Regions from separate parts of the Homo sapiens genome. Here all the other regions are linked to region 2. Evidence: promoter capture Hi-C in human tissues and cell types (Jung and others, 2019). All regions are on one chromosome and are shown on one strand. Each heading gives the region's core, a stretch centred on a gene start or on the middle of the fragment in contact. The rest is flanking DNA. Distances are from core to core; before and after follow the strand shown.

What was found. The method cuts DNA at HindIII sites, captures the fragments that hold promoters and counts their contacts. A contact is called where the count stands out against the background at its distance.
Region 1: a contact is called between a fragment that was not itself captured here and the fragment with the promoter of CYP2C18 in region 2, in 2 of the 25 tissues and cell types used here (liver and spleen).
Region 3: a contact is called between a fragment that was not itself captured here and the fragment with the promoter of CYP2C18 in region 2, in 3 of the 25 tissues and cell types used here (adrenal gland, liver and neural progenitor cells).

What each region holds. Positions count from the first base shown.
Region 1 is chr10:94,649,470-94,654,315 of GRCh38, forward strand. No RefSeq gene overlaps it. Among named protein-coding and RNA genes, the nearest start is that of CYP2C18, 32 kb to the right of the region's middle. The HindIII fragment of the contact is 3,187 bases long and covers 1-2,966 here.
Region 2 is chr10:94,681,070-94,685,830 of GRCh38, forward strand. It overlaps CYP2C18 (cytochrome P450 family 2 subfamily C member 18), which reads left to right and starts at 2,660. Exons shown (of 9, transcript NM_000772.3): 1 at 2,660-2,918. The coding sequence starts at 2,751. The HindIII fragment of the contact is 11,159 bases long and covers 1-4,761 here.
Region 3 is chr10:94,722,323-94,726,724 of GRCh38, forward strand. CYP2C18 (cytochrome P450 family 2 subfamily C member 18) reads left to right here. Exons shown (of 9, transcript NM_000772.3): 7 at 2,024-2,211. Among named protein-coding and RNA genes, the nearest start is that of CYP2C19, 38 kb to the right of the region's middle. The HindIII fragment of the contact is 3,726 bases long and covers 262-3,987 here.

The sequences.
Region 1 (4,846 bases), core at 123-2,622, 33 kb before region 2:
AGTGTACAGGGTTCCTTTCCTCTATATCCTCCCCAATACTTGTTATCTCTTATCTTTTTGATAAAAACTATTATGACAGGTGTGAAGTATCTCATTGTAATTTTAATTGTATTTCCGTAATGATTAAGTTTGTTACACAGGTAAATGTGTGCTGTGGTTATTTGCAGCACAGATCAACCCATCACCCTGTTGTTAAGTACCCACTAGCTATTCTTCCAGATGCTCTCCCTCCTCCTTGTGCCCCCTCCCAACAGGCCTCACTGTGTGTTGTTCCCCTGCAATGTGTTCATGTGTTCTCATTGTTCAGCTTCCATTTATAAGTGAGAAATGTGGTGTTTGGTTTTCTGTTCTTGCATTAGTTTGCTGAGGATAACGGCTTCCAGCTCCATCCATGTCCCTGCAAAGGACATGATCTCATTCCTTTTTATGGTTGCATAGTATTCCATGGTGTATTTGTGCCACATTTTCCTTATCCAGCCTATCATTGATGGGCATTTGGGTTGATTCCATATCTTTGCTATTGTGAATAGTGATGCAATGAACATACATGTGCATGTATTTTTATAATAGAATGATTTATGTTCCTTTGGGTAAATACTCAGTACTGGGATTGCTGGGTCAAATGGTATTTCTGGCACTAGGTCTTTGAGGAATCACCACACTGTCTTCCACAGTGGTTGAACTAACTTATACTTCCACCAACAGTATAAAAGCATTCCTTTTCTCCACAATCTTGCCAGCAATTGTTGTTTCTTGACTTTTTAATAATCACCATTCTGACTGGAGTGAGATGGTGTCTCATTGTGGTTTTGATTTGTGTTTCTCTAATAATCAGGAATGTTGGACTTTTTTTCATATATTTGTTGGCCTCATGAATGTCTTCATTTGAGAAGTGTCTGTTCATGTCTTTTGCCGACTTTTTAATGGGTTTTTTTTTTTCTTGTAATTTTGTTTGAGTTCCATGTAGGCTCTGGATATCAGACCTTTGTCAGATGGTGTGATGGTTAATCACAATCCAATCAAGTTGACACTCCCTATTCTGATACTCAGACACAATCCAATCTTGACCGTATTGAAGGATGCAAAATATTGATCCTAGGTATGTCTATGAGGGTGTTGCCAAAGGAGATTAACATTTGGGTCAGTGGGCTGGGAAAGGCAGACCCACCCTTAATCCGGGTGGGCACCATCTAATAAGCTCTCAGTGAGGCCAGAATGTAAAGCAGGAAAAAAAATGTGAAAAGGCTTAGCCTCCTAGCCTACATCTTTCTCCTGTGCTGGATGCCTCCTGCCCTCGAACATTGAACTCCATGTTTTTCAGCTTTGAGACTTGGACTGGCTTCCTTGCTCCTCAGTTTGCAGATGGCCTATTGTGGGACCTTGTGATCGTGTGTGTTAATACTACTTAATAAACTCCATTTATATATATATTAGTTCTGTCCCTCTAGAGAGCCCTGACTGATACAGATTTTGGTACCAGGAGTGGTTCTAGATGAACAGAATATTAAGCATGGAGTTCTTTCATTGGTTTTGGGGTTTGTGGAGTTGACTGCTAATATGATTTGACCCAAAAATGCTAACGACTCTACTTCTAATAGTATGGAGAACACCGATAGTCCTTGGTGTGAACTGTTTAGAGGGTTATGCAAAATAGATGCATTTGACAGTCCTGATTCACTGCTTGTGAGATGCAAGGAGTTTAGTGACTCTATACATAATACTTTTGACTACATGTGGAGAACCAAGGAAGATAATGAAGTTGGTTGGTTGCTCCTAAGTTCACTGGATAAAGTGATGAAACAAAATGATGAACTCAGGGATTCTAACTCCCAGCTTCAGAAGTGGATACTGAGCCTCAAATCTGCTAAGATTGCCCTGAGTGGGAATCTTATCTCCTGTAGAGAAAGAGCTGAAATTGTGGGAAAAAAGACACAAGCTCTTATACAAGTGGCTAACCTGCAATGAAAGGTGAATGAACAGCCTTGCCAGGGGTTTACTGTTAAAGTGAGGGCATTGATTGGAAAAGAATGGGACCCTGCAATTTGGAATGGGGATGTGTGGGAGGACCCTGATGAAGCTGGGGACACTAAGCTTGTAAACTCTGATAAGTCTTTTTTGCCAGAAGAAACAGCTTCTGTTCCCAGTAGTGGCAACATCCGCTCTGTGACCCATGCTGCCATCAGCCTTTCCTCCTTTGTCTGAGTAGATAAACCCTGTGCTGTCTGAGGCAAGATAATGTTGATTCTCCTCAGTAGCCACCCCCAACACTCCTGTTTGCTTCAAGACCTATAACTAGACTAAAGTTCTGGTGGGCCCCTAGAAGTCAGGTTCAGAGTGTGGCCCATGAGGAGGTGTGTTACAATAGAAAAGAACTGCTTGACTTTTCAAATTTATATAAGCAGAAATCTGGAGAACAGTCATGGGAATGGATATTAAGGGTGTAGGATAATGGTGAAAGAAACATAGAGTTGGATCAGGCTGAATTTATTGATTTGGGCCCACTAAATAGAGATTCTGATTTTAATGTTGCAGCTCAGGAAGTTAAAAAAGGTTTTAATAGTTTACTTGCTTGGTTAGCTGAAACATGGATTAAAAGATGGCCCATTGTGAGCAAGCTGGACATGCCTGATCTTCCTTGCTTTAATGTAAAGGAAGGGATCCACAGGCTTAGGGAGATTGGGATGGTGGAGTGGATTAGTTACTTTAGACATACTCATCCCAGCTGGGAGGGTGCAGAAAATATACCCTTGACCAGTGCTTTGTGAAATAGATTTGTGAGGGCAGCACCTGCCTCTTTGAAGAGCCCTGTAATTGCTATTCTCTGTATGTCATATCTAACAGTGAGAATCACAGTCACTCAACTACAAAAGTTAAATACAATGGGAATAATTGGATTCTGAGGTGGCAGGGGCTAAGTTGTGGCACTCGAGCATCAAAGGCAAGGTGGGTGTAGTTACTGTAATGGACAGCAGAAGCAAAACAGCAATCAGAATAATCTGACTCATGTAGCACTCTGGCACTGGCTAATTAATCATGGTTCCTAGATGTGAAATTGATAGGAAGCCTTCTCCATTCCTGCTTAATTTATATAAGCAGAAAACTTCCAGGTCAAATGGACAAAAGACTAATTTGAATTATGAAACAGAGAATCATGGCGCCTCAATCAACTTCCAGACTTGAGCCAGTTTACAGACCCAGAACCCCTTGAATGAAGGGAAGCCTGGGTCTTCTTGAGGAAGGGCCCCACTTCACTATCAACAATTTATGCTATTGATCTTTCTCCCATCCTTCCCCAAGGAGACCTCCAGCCTTTTACTAGAGTAACTGTCCACTGGGGAAAGGGAAATGATCAGACATTTCAGGGACTACTGGACACTGGCTCTGAGTCGACATTGATTCCAGGGGACCCAAAATATCATTGTGGTCCTCCAGTTAAAGTAGGGGCTTATGGAGGTCAGGTAATTAGTGGAGTTTTAGCTCAGGTCTGACTTACAGTGGTTCCCTGGACTCATCCCATGGTCATTTCCCCAGTGCCAGAATGCATAATTGGCATAGACATACTTAGCAGCCTGCAGAACCCCCACATAGGCTCCCTGACTGGTAGGTTGAGGGCTATTATGGTGGGAAAGGCCAAATGGAAGCCATTAGAGCTGCCTCTACCTAGAAAAATAGTAAATAAAAACCAACATCACTTCCCTAGAGGGATTGCAGAGATCAGTGCCACCACCAAGGACCTGAAAGACCCAGTGGTGGTGATTCCTACCACGTCCCCATTCAACTCTCCTATTTGGCCTGTGCAGAAGACAGATGGATCTTAAAGAATGACAGTGGATTATCTTAAGCTTAGCCAAGTGGTGACTCTAATTGCATCTCCTGTACCAGATGTGGTTTCATTGCTTGAGCAAATTAACACATCTCGTGGTACCTTGTATGCAGCCATTGACTTGGCAAATGCTCTTTTCTCCCTTCCTGTTCATAAGGCCCACCAGAAGCAATTTGCCTTCAGCTGGCAAAGCCAGCAATATACCTTTACTGTCCTATCTCAGGGGTGTATCAACTCTCTGGCTTTGTGCCATAGTCTTATTAGAAGAGATCTTGATAGCTTTTTGCTTCCACAGATATCACACTGGTCCATTACATTGATGACATTATGTTAATTGGATCCAATGAGTAAGAAGTAGCAAACACACTGGACTTATTGGTGAGACATTTGTGTGCCAGAGGATGGGAAATAAATCTGACTAAAATTCAGGGATCTACTGCCTCTGTAAAATTTCAAGGGGTCCAGTGGTGTGCGGCCTATTGAGATATTCCTTCTAAAGTGAAGGGTGAGTTGCTGCATTTAGCCCCTCCTACAACCAAGAAAGAGACACAACGCCTAGTGGGCCTATTTGGATTTTGGAGGCAACACATTCCTCATTTGGGTGTGTTACTCCAGCCCATTTATTGAGTGACCTGAAAGGCTGCCAGTTTTGAGTGGTGTCCAGAACAGGAGAAGGCTCTGTAACAGGTCTAGGCTGCTGTGCAAGCTGCTCTGCCACTTGGGCCATATGACCCAGTGGATCCAATGGTGCTTGAGGTGTCAGTGGCAGATAGGGATGCTGTTTGGAGCCTTTGGTAGGCTCCTATAGGTGAATAACAGCAGAGGCCTCTAGGATTTTGGAGCAAGGTCCTGCCATCTTCTGTAGACAATTACTCTCCTTTTGAGAGACAGCTCTTGGACTGTTACTCGGCTTTGGTGGAAACTGAACGTTTGACTATGGGTCATCAAGTCAACATGAATGTGACCTGAACTACCTATCATGAACTGGGTGCTTTCTGACCAATCTAGCCTTAAAGTGGGTCA
Region 2 (4,761 bases), core at 1,410-3,909:
TCCTTACTGCAGTTAGAAATAACTGCACTAATCCAGTATTATTTCCAATAGCCAGGATGTAGAAACAATCTAAGTGTTCATTCACAAATAAATGGATGAAGAAATTGTGTTTTATATTTATATACACAATGAAATATTTTTTAAACTTTAAAAGGAGATACTGCCATTTGCAATGACATGGAATGAACCTGAAGGATATTATGCTAAGTGATATGAGCTAGATACAGAGGAAAAAAGATTGCATGATTTCACTTATATGAAGAATCTTTAAAAAGTCAAATACATAGAAACAGAGAGTAGAATGGTGGTTACCAAAAGTGGGAGCCAGAGGAAATGGAAAAAAGTGTGTCAAAGAGCCAAATTTGTGGTTAGATAGGATGAATAAGTCTAAAGATCTAATAAACAGCAAGAGGACTATAGTTAATATACTATACTGAAAATTTGCTAAAAGAGTAGATTTTAGGTGCTTATACCACAAAAAAGAAGTTAATTATAGAATTGATTAATATGTAAATTTGTTTAACCATAGTAATGATTCCACTGTTTATATGTCTACCAATGTTGTATACCTTAAATATATACAATGGAAATAAACAAATAACTGTACTAGTCATTTAGAATACCACAATGACATCTTTACAGAATATGCCTTTGTACAAGCATTGCCATTAGTGATCTAGAAATGTATGTATCATTTTAGTGATATATAGAGCCTCATGAGCGCTAAATGTCATCTCCAGTTCAGGTCTGCACAACTGTGTTTGTTCTGTGCCATGGGTCTGTTTAATGATTTCCCTACCTCCCATTCACCACTGAAGCACATGCCTGTTGTTCTGCCTATAATTCCCCTTCCTTGCTGTGCAATATTTCATTCCATTATTTCTGACACAGACCAAAAAAGCAATAGAAACAGCAGTGTCTGGAGGCAAGTGGGAGCTGGAGAAGCCATAGTTTCTGAGATCTTACCCACTTAATTCTCTGAGATTGGCTCTTTCCTCAGTTATACTGAGTAGGTTTCAGCTCTTCAGTGACAGAGAGGGGAGAAACCCTAGCTTTTATTTCTTCTCTTGAGAATGTACAACCCTGTTATTTTGTGAACAGTGTGGTGTAGATTCAGAGTGAGAAATGTTTTTAGGATTTATTTTATTTTGCTAAAACTGTTCTCAAGGCAGCTCTGGTGTAAGTGAGAATATACCACAGCGGGCGTCAGAAGATCTCAGTTCAAATCCCAGCCTGCCATTTATGAGCTGTGGGACACTGGACAGGTCATCTGTTCTCCTAGAGTCTCCCTTTCCCCATTTGGAAAATATGAAATAATATTCTCAGCCGTCCAGTGTTTTTCACGGGGTTTAATGGAAAAAGGTGTGTATGTTTACTTAGTTAATTGATAACCGGTTTAGCCATTTAAGATGAATGAGTTTGTTAGCTGCTTTATGTTTAGGCAGCTGTAATGTTAGTACTACATTAAAATATTTCAAAAGGATCTCATTTTCAAGGAAAATGATCTAGTGTTTGAGAAAGCATTATAGTGTTGCAGTCTTGCAGATCCTTAGCTCAGCTAGGTCCGAGTTGTCTTATGCAGGAAGAATTAGGCACACAGACACTGGAGAGTGAGTGGAGTAGAATTTATTAAGTGAAAGGAAAACTCTCAGCAAAGAGAGAGGCCCTGAAAGCAGGTTGCAGATTGCCACTTCACAGTTGAATACCAGGACTTTTATAGAAAAGCTGATGAGGCTGGGATACTTATTTGCATAAGGCGTGAATTCCTGGTGTTTCCACCCCTTCCTTCCATTGCGCGTGTGGGCTCTTAGTCTAAGCCACTCCATATTGATTTATTTCCCTTCCTGCGCATGTGTTAAAGGTAGGAATTTTTCACTGTGGGCATATTTAGGCAAGCTCCCTGTGCAAGTTCCCTTATCTGCACAAAACATCTAGTGTAAGTACTTGGGGTTTTTGTGGATTGGGCAATGACCTGGAAGGGTTGGAGGTTCTCTGGGGACCCTTCCCTTACTGCCTGCCTAATGCAAGCTGGCTAACTCCTCTCAATAGGATAAACATTATTTTATGTACAAGGAATATAATACACAGATTGCCCTCAAAGTCATATTTCCAACTGCTCATCAATCTAAAAATCCAAAATTTTGAATAATTTTTTGATGAAATAATTTATTTCATTGTTTCTCAATTTTGGCTGCACAGTGGAACCACCTGGGCTGTTTGAAAAAACCTAGGCCTAGCCAGGCACGGTGGCTCATGCCTGTAATCCCAGCACTTAGGGAGACCAGCCTGGCCAACATGGTGAAACCCTGTCTCTGCTAAAAATACAAAATCACCTGGGCGTAGTTGTGCATTCCTGTAATCCCAGCCACGCCAGAAGCTGAGGCAGAATCGTTCGAATCCAGGAAGTGGAGGCTGCAGTGAGTTGAGATCTTGCCATTGCACTCCAGCCTGGGCAACAAGAGCGAAACTCCATCTCAAGGAAAAACAACAACAACAACAACAAAATCCTGGGCTCTGCTTCAGACTAGTTAAACCAGAATCTCCAGGGTGGGGCACCGGAAAGAACAAGAAAAAAGAACACCTTATTTTTATCTTCTTCAGTGAGCCAATGTTCATTCAAAAGAGAGATTAAAGTGCTTTTTGCTGACTAGTCACAGTCAGAGTCAGAATCACAGGTGGATTAGTAGGGAGTGTTATAAAAGCCTTGAAGTGAAAGCCCGCAGTTGTCTTACTAAGAAGAGAAGCCTTCAATGGATCCAGCTGTGGCTCTGGTGCTCTGTCTCTCCTGTTTGTTTCTCCTTTCACTCTGGAGGCAGAGCTCTGGAAGAGGGAGGCTCCCGTCTGGCCCCACTCCTCTCCCGATTATTGGAAATATCCTGCAGTTAGATGTTAAGGACATGAGCAAATCCTTAACCAATGTAAGTATGCTTTATGTTCCTCCAGTAATGTACAAGGTGTATTTAACCTCACAATTCTTAAAGTTTTATTTCATTTTAAAGTGATAAATGATAATTGTATATATTAATGGGGTACAATATTACATTTTGATACATGTATAGATTGTGAATTGATCATATCAGGGTAATTAGCATATCCATCATCTCAAATATTTGTCATTTCTTTGTAGTGAGAACATTTAAAATCCTCTTTTTTAGCTGTTTTGAAATATACAGTACATTAATATTAATTATAGTCACCTTGCTGTCCAATAGAACACCCGAGCTTATTCCTCCTATCTAAGTGTAACTCTGTACCTGTTGACCAACGTATCCCCTTATTTGGCCCATCTCCACCTGCCAGCCTCTGGTAGCCACCATTCTAATCTCTACTTCTCTGAGTTTAACTTTTTAAGATTCCACATAGAAGTGAGATCATATATGATATTTGCCTCTCTCTGCCTGGCTTATTTAATTAATATGATGTTCTGTAGATTCATCCATGCCGTCATAAATAAGAATATTTTTTCCTCTTTAAAAGGCTGAATAGCATTTCATTGTACATATATGTCACATACAAAATCCATTAATTTATTGATGAACACTTAGGTTGTTTCCATATCTTGGCTATTGTCAATAGCACTGCAATAAACATGGAAGTACAGACATGTCTTCCACATACTGACTTCAATTCCTTTGGGTATATACTGGTAGTGGGATTGCTGGATCATCTGATAGTTCTATTTTTGTTTTTTTTAGGAACATCCATACTGTTTTCTCAAATCACAATGCTAATTTACATACCCAAGGTTCACTTTATTCCACATCTTTGTCAACACTTGTTATCTTTTTATCTTTTTGATAATAATAATATCTTATCTATGAGTTGTGATGAGTTATCTCATTGTGGTTTTAATTTGCATTTCTCTGATGATTAAATTTGTTGAGTATTTAAAAAATATATCTTGGCCATTTGTATGTCTTTTTTTGAAAAATGTCTACTCAAATCCTTTGCCCATTTAATTAATTAATTAATTAATTAATTAATAGAGACAGGGTTTTGCTCTGTTGTAGGATGGAGTGTAGTGATGGGATCATGGTCCCTGCAGCCTTGAGCTCCTGGGCTCAAGCCATCCTTCTACCTTAGACCCCCAAGTAGCTGGGGCTACAGGTGTATGCCACCATGCCTGGATAATTTTTTAATGCTTTGTAGAGATGTGGTCTCATTATGTTGTCCAGGCTGGTCTTGAACTCTTGGGCTCAAGCAATCCACCCACCTTTGTCTCTCAAAGTGCTGGAATTACAGACATGAGCCATTGCACTTGACCCCTTTGCTCGTTTTAAATAGAATTATTTATTTGTTATTGAGTAATTTGAGTTTCTAAGTATTTTGGGTGGTCAGAATCTCATTTGTCTAGTTTTGCTTTCATGGCCTGTACTTTTAGGATCATATCCAAGAAATCATTGCCTAGACCAATGTCATGGAGTTTTTCTATATGGTTTCTTTCAGTAGTTTTTAGTTTCAGGTCTTATGCTTAAGGCTTTAATTCATTTTGAGTTAATTCTTGTATAAGGGTGAGATTAGGATTCTCTTTTATTCTTTGCATATGAATATCCAGTTTTCCCAACACCTTTTGCTGAAGAGTGCTTTCCCCATTGTATGTTCTTGGCACCTTTGTCAAAAATCAATTGATTATAGATGTGTGGGCTTATTTCAGGGTTCTCTACGCTTTTCCTTTAATCAGTGTGTCTATTTTTATGCTAATGCTATGCAGTTTTGCTTACTATAGCTTTGTAACATATTTTGCAGTTCAGTGGTGTGATG
Region 3 (4,402 bases), core at 875-3,374, 41 kb after region 2:
CTTTTATATTTATCTATGAGCAGATTCTGGCTCTGCATAACATATTAGCCACACACTTGTTTTTCTGGGGTCAGAATCACACTGAAGTGATGATAAACATATTACAAATGAGAATTACTCCTGTTAAAGTTGGAGTATAACCATCAAGTCTTTAACAAACTTCTCAGACACAGAGAGCAGATAGAAGGATGATAACCAATTTGGCAGAGAGATTGAAGTTGCAACCTAAGGGTCATAAGAATTTCTGTTGCTATAGTCCCCATAAGGCTGAGTATTCAAAAGAACCAAGACCCAAAGAACATAGAGGGAGAATGAGGCAGAAAACAGAAAATTCTCCCTGCCTAGTTTCCCTCCACAACTCCATTTGTCAACTAATTGTTTTTCTCCACAGAAAAGGGAGGTTCACTCTCTAGAGAAACTGAACCTAAGAGGCTCACTCATGGACAACAGACAGAGACTGGGAAAGAGTGAGGGGTTAAGTAAGAGTCCACTTGAATTCTAAGGCCTTTAGCGCCTTTTTCTATCTTGTTCCTAAAATACAGCAGCCAGGTGTAAACTCCAGAGGACAAGTAGCACCAGTGGAAAGACCTCCATTTTTCACCATTTAGATAGAAAATTCTTACCAAATGTCCAGCAAAGTGAATGAAATGGAAAATATTCATCCAAGACACCAGACCATGGGGAATTTTAGAACATCAGAGTTAAAGGGAAAGTCATAAAAACATTCAGAGATAAATTAGGTCACCTGTGAAGGATCAGGAATCAGAATGGCATTAGAATTCTCAAGAGCAGCTGTCATCTTGTGTATTTGTAGATAAAGAATATTTTCAGATCTGCATTTGGCAAAAAATTTTTGCCCTTTGTGTTTATTTTCTTAGAAAGATACTAGAGAATATTTTCCATCCAAATGTCTGAAACCAATTCAGGGGAAATCATGGGCTGCAGGGATCAGGAGATCTCATGTAGGAGGATGGAAGTGTCAGGGAGGCTGCTGGATACCAGGTCTAGAAAACAAATGCTTTAGAATGGACCAGGTGGATCATGGAGGTGTGAGGGAAGACATTAAGGGCAAAGAAAAGTTGATTGATTATTTGATTATTTTTAGTGTTTAGAAAATTATTAGTAAGAGTTTGAAACATTTCTGAGCATTTGCAGTAATTCTAAATTGGCATATGAAAATTAGAATTGAAATGGACACACAAGTCCAAGAATATACAAAAAAGAGACATAATTACAGCTGTCCCACTTGTGGTCAATGTTTATGAAATAATAATGGTGTGAACATGAGTATTAATATAATAAAAATGTGATATAAATACATTGGGGAAACTAGAGTGGGGGAAGTGTGAATGTGTGTGCATGTTTCTGTTTGTGGGTGTGTGTCTATTTGTTATGGGGTGATGATGGAGATATAAGTCCTCATCTTTCTTACCATGAGGTTTTAGAAATTTTCAAAGATAAATTAAAAAATAAAAAGAGAGTCAGTATTTAGAAATATGAATATAAACTTCAGAAGAAACTTCTAGAATGTTTCAACATAGTCACCTTTGTGGAGTGTGAGGATGAGAGAGAATATCATTTCAAGTTTCAAATAAACATATGCACACAATACACAAATCCATCCATACATATAGATCTGTTAGTAGAATTAAAGTTTTAAAACATTATATGTTATTCTGATACAACATTAATTTGATTTTTTTCTTTCTTCAAGAACAGTAATTTCTTGAGTTTATAATGTACTAAATATTTATATTTTGAAGTATTTTATCATTTATATTTGTACTGATTATCTTGTATGCTAATATGTAGGTGGTTACAGATTTATCTTAATACTTAGCTTGTAGGAGAGTTGGATGTATCTATAATGTAGTAATTTCTTCCCTAAGTCTAGGTGTACTTTCAGTCCTATAAGTTTATAATGATGTTGGGACCCCTTCCTTATGCTTCTTGTAACCTGAATTGCTACAACAAATGTGCCATTTTCCTCCTTTTCCATCATTTCTTACTTGTGTCTTATCAGCTAAAGTCCAGGAAGAGATTGAATGTGTAGTTGGCAGAAACCGGAGCCCCTGTATGCAGGACAGGAGTCACATGCCCTACACAGATGCTGTGGTGCACGAGATCCAGAGATACATTGACCTCCTCCCCACCAACCTGCCCCATGCAGTGACCTGTGATGTTAAATTCAAAAACTACCTCATCCCCAAGGTAAGCTTGTTTCTCCTACACTACATCTCCATGCTCTTCAAGTCCCCAAATTCATAGTATAGTCCCAATCCTCTAACAACACATGATGAGAGAAGTGTAAAATTCATACGTGGGGCAGCTTTCTGGACTCTGCTGTTTCCATTCCAGTTTGGGCCTATGAAGGTTTATAACAGGTCTCAGTATCTAGCAGTGTATGTCTTCCAAATTTGTTCTGCTTCTTTAGTATTTTTTTTTTGTGGCTATTCTCAGGTTGTTTACATTTCCAAGTAAGTGTTGAAAGTATCATTTTGTCAATTTCCCAAAACACTGTGCTGGGATTTTTATCATGATGACATTAAATCTTTAGATCAATTTAGAAATAATTGATGTCCTGACAGGTTGAATCTTTCAATTCATGGATATGATTATGCTCTTTATTTATTTGGGCTTTCTTCTATTGTGTCAGTAATGTTTTGTCTTCAGTTCAGTGGCTTTCTCATGTATTACGTTTTTTTTCTGAAATGATATTTCTATGTAATTGTAAGTTGTGTATTTAATATATAATATAAAATATATATAATATGAAATAAATATATATAATATTAAAAATATATTTTCAAAACAGAGTCTTGCTATGTTGCACAGATTGATCTTCTGGGCTCAAGCAATCCTCCACCTCTTCCTCCTGAGTAGCTGGGATTAGAGATGTGTGCCACTGCACCTGGCTTTTAAATAATATACTTTAAAAAAAATGCCTTTTCCATTTCTTTGTTTCTGGTACATGGAAATATAATTGACTTTATTATTTTGATGACCTTACATCAAGCAAATTTACTTGGCATTGCTAATTTTTTGTTTGTAAATTTATTTGTAATTTCTATGTATTCTGTGTTCTCTTTTAATATTTATTTTATTTCTTATTTTTCAATTCTTATAACTCAGTTTTCTCTTTATTGTTTTATTTCACTGGTTAGGATTTCCAGGACAGCGTTGAATAAATCATGATGGTGGGCATCCTTGTTTCATATATGATGTTCAGGATGGGTGGAGATTTAACATCTCACCAGTGAGAATGATGTTTTATGTATATTTTCATAAGTAAAAAATCAGATTAGAGAAGGTTGCCTTCTACTTTTGATGACTTTTTTTGGTCTTGAATGTGTATACAATTTGATCAAATGGAGTCTCTGCATCAATCGATATGGCCATATATTTTGTCCTGTCTATAGATATAATATATATATTAGTTAAAATACACACAAATGTGCACACAGAGACATACACAGCTGGGTTTTATTTGCTATGATTTTCAGGATGTTTGAACTTATATTTACAAGAGACATTGGTTTGCAATTTTTCTTCCTCAAAATTTTCTTGTCAGATTTCTGATATTGAGGAAATGTTGGCTTCATAAAATAAGGAAGATAATGTTCTGTATTGTGGTTGTTTTTATAATCTTTTCTCCCTTCTCTATTCTTTTTGTGCTCACTTAGTTCTGTCTTTGGAGTGACTCATAAATTTTGGTTAAGTGCCAGTTATGATGTATGAAAAAATGCAGAATGTCAGATGAGGTTCATCTTCTTCCAGAAAGGGTTCATCCCTCCCATGCTAGGCAGACAGAATTATGCAACACCTTCTACCTTCATTCAGAATTAGATATCAACACAGTCAAAAAAAATTTTTTTTCAATTTTTTTTTTATTATACTTTAAGTTCTGGGATACATGTGCAGAATGTGCAGTTTTGTTACATAGGTATACACGTGCCATGGTGGTTCGCTGCACCCATCAACCTGTCACCTACATTAGGTATTTCTCCTAATGTTATCCCTCCCCTAGCCCCAACATCCCCCACAGGCCCTGGTGTGTGATGTTACCCTCCCTGTGTCCTTATTGTTCAACTCCCACTTATAAGTGAGAACATGCGGTGTTTGGTTTTCTGATCTTGTGATAGTTTGCTGAGAATGATGGTTTCCAGCTTCATCAATGTCCCTGCAAAGGACATGAAGTCATCATTTTTTATGGTTGCATAGTATTCCATGGTGTATATGTGTCATATTTTCTTAATCTAGTCTATCATTGATGGACATTTGGGTTGGTTCCAAGTCTTTGCTATTGTGAATAGTGCCACAATAAACATACGAAACACAGTCAAAAATTGACTGTAGCCATCAAAAATTGACTGTAACCTCTCTGAGTTCCCCCATGCCTGCA